Linked DNA regions of Homo sapiens: region 1 is linked to region 2. Evidence: promoter capture Hi-C in human tissues and cell types (Jung and others, 2019). All regions are on one chromosome and are shown on one strand. The core of a region is centred on a gene start or on the middle of the fragment in contact, and the rest is flanking DNA. Distances in the headings are between cores, read along the strand shown.

Region 1 (2,700 bases), core at 17-2,516, 1.1 Mb before region 2:
ATGCTGAAAATGATGAAGTAATTCCAATTCTGCTGATAGAGACCTGGAAATGCACTAGGGAAAAATGACAAGAGTGTAACACACTGCTGCTGATTATGTCATAATGATTATTTTATGCAGTTTGAAGAAGACTCACTGTTCTAAAGAACCAGCATCCATTTCCAGGAAAGAGCAGGGATTCTCCATCCATACCTCCATGGGATGAACCACATTGAAAATAATGATTTCCTTCTAATAGCTTACTCTACATTATATAAAGAATTCCTTGGGATTCTAAAAAAACCCTAATAATATAGTAATAATAACAACAGAGGTTTGTTTTTGCTATTTGTAGTCTAATATTCAGATTGTGAGCAGCTGTTTTGGAAGGCAAGATGAGTGAATAGATGTGAAGTCGTCTTAGAAATGTCCAGGCTTCCAAAAGAAATTTCACTTTTAAAAGAAAATAGCCTAATGTGAACCACATTAGAATCAGCACATCTAATCCTACGGAGAAAAAGTGACCATGGCTGTCTACACATATAGGCAGGTCATTCAAGCTCATTCAAAAATTCCACTTTCACTGGTGGTCTGTCTGTGTCCACATGGTGACAAATGGCCCCGGCAGGGTTTTTGAGGTGTTGGCACCACCAGTGAGTGCCAGATGGAATGTGGTGAAAGTTCTGATTTGTACCTTTCAGACTAAAGGTACTTTCCAGAATGGACGGGTCCTTCTGGCTGCCTTTTGTAAGTGCAGCCACAGGTATTCTGTTGAAGCCTGTGGGTGAGAAAGACATAAACAGGTGCTATAAATTTGTCAGACCAGGAAGCCACAGGCCGTTTAGTAAATGGTAAACCCAATGGCCCAAAAGAACAAAGGGGTCTCTTTTCATCAGAATGATCAGGCTCATTCAACAAATATTTATTGAGCACCCACTTTCTGCCAGATGGAAGAGCCACTGACAAGGCCTCTTATTTAAAGAGTGCCTGAAGTGAGGAAGCAAACCCCCAAATCATCTGGGATGGTATGAACTGAACTCTGGACCGCAACATGATGGAAAGGAGGAGCTGGGGTCCCAAGGGCAGTCCAGACAACCTGAACCTGTGACACTCACCCTGCCCACACACTCTCAGAGCTGCAGCTTTCACGGGGGTGAGTTTTCTGCCTTGATTTACTCAGGCCAAGACCTTTCATTTTCTGGAGAAAATACAGGTTTTTCTGTAGTATTTCACAAACAAGGCAATTCTCTCAGGGAGGTGAAACAGCATTGCTTCTCAACTGAAATCTGAATTTCATCTTCCTAAGTTTATATCGTTGAGTCACAATTATTGAGTCATAAAGACCAAAAAGGATGTTGAAAGTTAATTTATTTACCACACTATGGCTTAGACTATTCTAGAAATATGAAAATATCTCCTATTAAAGCAGACTTTCTGAGGAGAAACCATTGCTTTTTCAACTAACGTTTTATCATGTTTTATTGCCTTCATAGTTAACTATTTTTTTAAATCATATCTAACATAAGTCCCTCCAGCAGCATTTTATATCTCTTTTACAATACTTTGCCCTGGATAGTTGAATAATAGTTCATCAAGCCTCATATAACAGTAATTAAATTGTCACCTTGGTGTTTTTCAGACCCAATTCTTGCTAATTCTTTGTAGGTGACATGAATGCTTGTAAATGAGCTTGCTGAATGGGAGACCAAGAACGATGATATTGAGCTGTTACTACATGCCAGACATTTAACCCTTTCATCCAGGTTATCTCAATCATTCCTTACAGAAAGGCTTTTGAGGTAGGTTCAATCATTTCTCGCATTTTATAAGTGGGAAAACTGAGACTCTACGAGAGGTCAATATTTTACACTAGACCCCCACTGTTGGAAGGGGTGGAGCTGAGATGTATTTCCAGTTAATTACACAGATAAGACTGCCCACTTTTTCTATGAATATTTCCAACTATTAGATTGAGTGAACCTTAATTAATCAACATATTATTTTAAAAATAACTTGCTCATGTTCTAATGCCTGTTTGTCACTCAAGTGTTTGCAAAATCAGGGAATAATTTTTTTCTAGACTTTTACTCCTTTTCCAGATATAAGCTCTTAAAAACCTTTGTTTAATCTTTGACTTTAAATCCACAAAACATAATAGCTGGTGAGATACCTAATACCTTTGCTATTTTCTTTGAGGATACAAGTCTTGATATTTATCTCTTTAAGCCAGTAGCTCTCAACCTTGGCTGTGCCTTAGAATCACTTACAGGAGCTTTTAAAGATCCTGATGCTGGACCACACCCAAGGCCAATTAAATTAGGATTGCTGAGGGTGATACCCAGGTGATTACAATGAACATCCCAGGTTGAAACCACTGATTTAAACAACTCTTCCCTGGACTTTCCCGTACCTCCATTTCACCTGGCCTGCTGTGGCTTTCGCTTATCTAGTTAGAACTGTAATTTGGCCAGTTCATCGCTCATTCCCAAAGGGGATCTCATTACCTGTCTCTAATACAGAGTCTGAAAAAGCTAAATATTCTGTCTTCCAGATGTCCTTGCAACTGGAGGTGCCATATGATACAGTTCTGCCCAAAGACAAGAAAGTGAATGTCTGTTGAGGGCTTCCTATAAGGCCAATACATACAGGTGTTCCCAACAACAGGTAAGTCAATTCAGCTGGTTGGATTTTTCACTTTTCATCTGAATGTTTACATGTATC
Region 2 (2,700 bases), core at 7-2,506:
TACAAGTCTATACAAATTGAAATTACTATAAAAAGATGAATGTTTTCTGACCAAAAAATTGGCTATACTATGACAAAGTTATTTCCTTTAAAAAGCTGAATACTTCTAGTGATATTAAAGATGAGCATAATCAATAACATATCAGAAGTTTCCAGCTGCATATTTTAGTTTAAACATAACTTTAAACTTCTGATCTCTGAATGTTCAAATTACAGCTTTAGGTATCTAGCTTTTTTAAAAAAAAACCCAGATGATTGTTTGAGCTTGCATTTTTATTTATATAGCTGCTGGTTAGGAATCTATAGATAAATAGATTCCTTTAATTAACAACTCCAAGTAACATACATAAGTCTACAAATGCATTGAATAAATCCTCTCGCTTAGGCCACGGCTTTAGGAGCCTCATTTTTTAAAAGAGAGAGAGAAAAAAAGGAAACTTTTTAGCAGTGTCTTTCGGCCACGTTTCAATTTAATCTCACATTTGAGTTCCACAATTGTTTTTTAATACGTACCCTTTGCGCCATCGGCCTCTCTGGCTCCCTTCCTACTTCAACTTCTAATATATCCTCTTTAAGGCCAGTGTGAAAAGAAACAAATATTCAAACTCCCCCGGAAAAAAAAAAAAAAAAAAAAAAAAGCACGACGAAAAATCCCTTAACGTCTCCAGCAACGTGAGCTACTGGTCCCAGATCTTCGGTCTACGGGACCTGAAGCAAAGCGCCCGAGTCACTGAGCATAAAAGCGCTCCGTTTCCAAGACAGCAGCGGGGGCAAAAAAAAGCAGATCTTCTCTCCCCCAAAAATCAGTTTAAAAAAAAAAAAAGAAAGAAAGAAAGAAAAGGAAAAAAAAGAGCGCCCCTCAGACCCAACTACCAAATCTCATGGCTTTCTGCCACTCCAGCTGTCAATCACAGGCGAGGTTGTCAACGTGGTGAATGAATGATCATCCGCTCTGTCTTCTTCTGGTCAGAACACCTCAAATGTTAATATTCAAATGCACAAAGCCCTAGCGCTCGCTTCCCTTGAATCAGTCCTAATTCCTAATCAGTTTCTCTCTTCTCTCTCTCTCTTTCTTTCTCTCCCTCTCTCTCCCTCTTTGCAAGTGCTGCACTGGAAGGAGATTAGAGAAGGAGGGTTAAAAAAAATGTCTGTCTGAGTTTGTCTTAAAGGAGCCACGATCGATGCTGCCCGCTTGCAGTCCCCGTGCGTGTGTAAAGTGTGTGTTGCACAGGCGGAGAGGTGGATTCCGACCAGAATGCTAGAACCCGGAAGTAGTGGTGGCCATAACAGGTCGCGTCTTACACAATGCATTGGGCTGCAGCAAGTAGGCTCCTCGGCAGGGGTGGGTGCGCGAAGCGAGCTCTGGCCGCACTGGAGAGGCAGAGAGGCGCTCCATTAAATCGCACGCCCAGGCACAAACACCACACACCCAGGGCACACGCACACAAACGCAGGCAGTAGCCCGCGGCCGCCAGCTTTATTTTCAGTATTCTTTTCTCTCCCTCCCCCTGCAGACTCTCTCCCCAAAGCCGACTCTCTTGAAATAAATTGGGAATCAACGCCGGGCAGGCAGCAGCGGGAGTTATTTTGCACAGGGCTCCGCGCATAGACTTCATGACTTTCCTCGAAATTATTGGGGTCTGCCAGTGTTTTTCGGGGCAGGGGGTGATGCGCAAAGTACTGAATTCTCAGAACTAAACACTGCAAGGAGAAAAGTCAAAGCGGGATCGTGGAGGAAAAGGAGGGAGAAGCCAGGTTGGGAAAGCCTCTGCTAAGGAGTCCTGAGAACATGGGGTTGAGGTGGCTCGGGCTTTCTGCAGACCCAGCTTAGAGGTTTCTTTGCTGTTAGAGGTGGACGCCCGGCCGGGGGAAAGAAAATGCTAGCATTTTGTCACTTCGGGTCTGGACTCCCCCACCTCCTAGCCCCGGCGGCTCCCAGCCCCAGCCCAGGCGTCCTGCGCGAAGTAGAGAGGAAGGGAGGGAACAATGAGCTGAGCGCGGGGAATGTGCCCCCAGCGCCTGTTTACAAACACCAAGCTATTTATGATCGTCGGAAAGCGAAACCCGGCGCGGGCTCGCAGCAGCCCAGACCTCGCGGGCGGAGCCGGGGCCGGGGAGCCGCTGGGAGGGAGGCTCTTTCTCCGACCCGCTCGGGGTGAGGCGGCCGTGCGCCCAGGGCGCGGCGCGGCGCGGCGCGACGCTGCCGGAGTGCTAGGCTCCGGCTGCAGCCACCGCTGCCTTTGTCTTAGAGGCGCCGAGGGGCTCCAGCCTCGACCTCTCCCGGGCCTGTAAGAACCTCGCGCCCCACTAGCTCTTTCTCCAGCGAAGCCCTGCCCTCACCACCCCAGACATCCTTCCCCGCGCTCCTCTTTCCCGTCCCCAACCCGGCTCGGCGAAACCTCCCAGTGCCAGAGAAAAAGAAATCCGCTTCGGAAGCTGAGATTTCAGACAAAAGCTGCCTGTACCTACAACTCGGAGGCTCCAACCAACCACTGTTTTTTGTTTTGTTTTGTTTTTAACTTTAACACCTATTGCCTGGGCTTTAATTCCCCCTCACCCCTTCTCTTTATTCTCCCGCTCTAAGCTTCTCCCTTGTGATTATATTTAGTGGCGTTATTTTCGTATTTATATTTCTGTCCGCTGGGCTCTGATCTGCCGAGATGGCTCAGCCGCAGCAGCTCTACCAGTGGCTGGAAACCTC

What was found. Contacts are between HindIII fragments. The study calls those that stand out against the background at their distance.
Region 1: a contact is called between a fragment that was not itself captured here and the fragment with the promoter of MEIS1 in region 2, in 2 of the 25 tissues and cell types used here (IMR-90 fibroblasts and heart right ventricle).

The regions. Positions count from the first base shown.
Region 1 is chr2:67,562,860-67,565,559 of GRCh38, reverse strand. LINC02831 (long intergenic non-protein coding RNA 2831) reads right to left here and starts at 1,260. Exons shown (of 7, transcript NR_183413.1): 1 at 1,095-1,260; 2 at 674-757. LOC105374786 (a long non-coding RNA gene) reads left to right here. Exons shown (of 4, transcript XR_001739524.2): 2 at 1-1,132; 3 at 1,645-1,778; 4 at 2,531-2,700. The HindIII fragment of the contact is 7,980 bases long and covers 1-2,700 here.
Region 2 is chr2:66,433,681-66,436,380 of GRCh38, reverse strand. It overlaps MEIS1 (Meis homeobox 1), which reads right to left and starts at 1,256. Exons shown (of 13, transcript NM_002398.3): 1 at 513-1,256. The coding sequence starts at 524. RefSeq lists enhancers at 1,297-1,396, 984-1,860, a promoter at 958-1,498 and a silencer at 2,105-2,204. The HindIII fragment of the contact is 8,281 bases long and covers 697-2,700 here.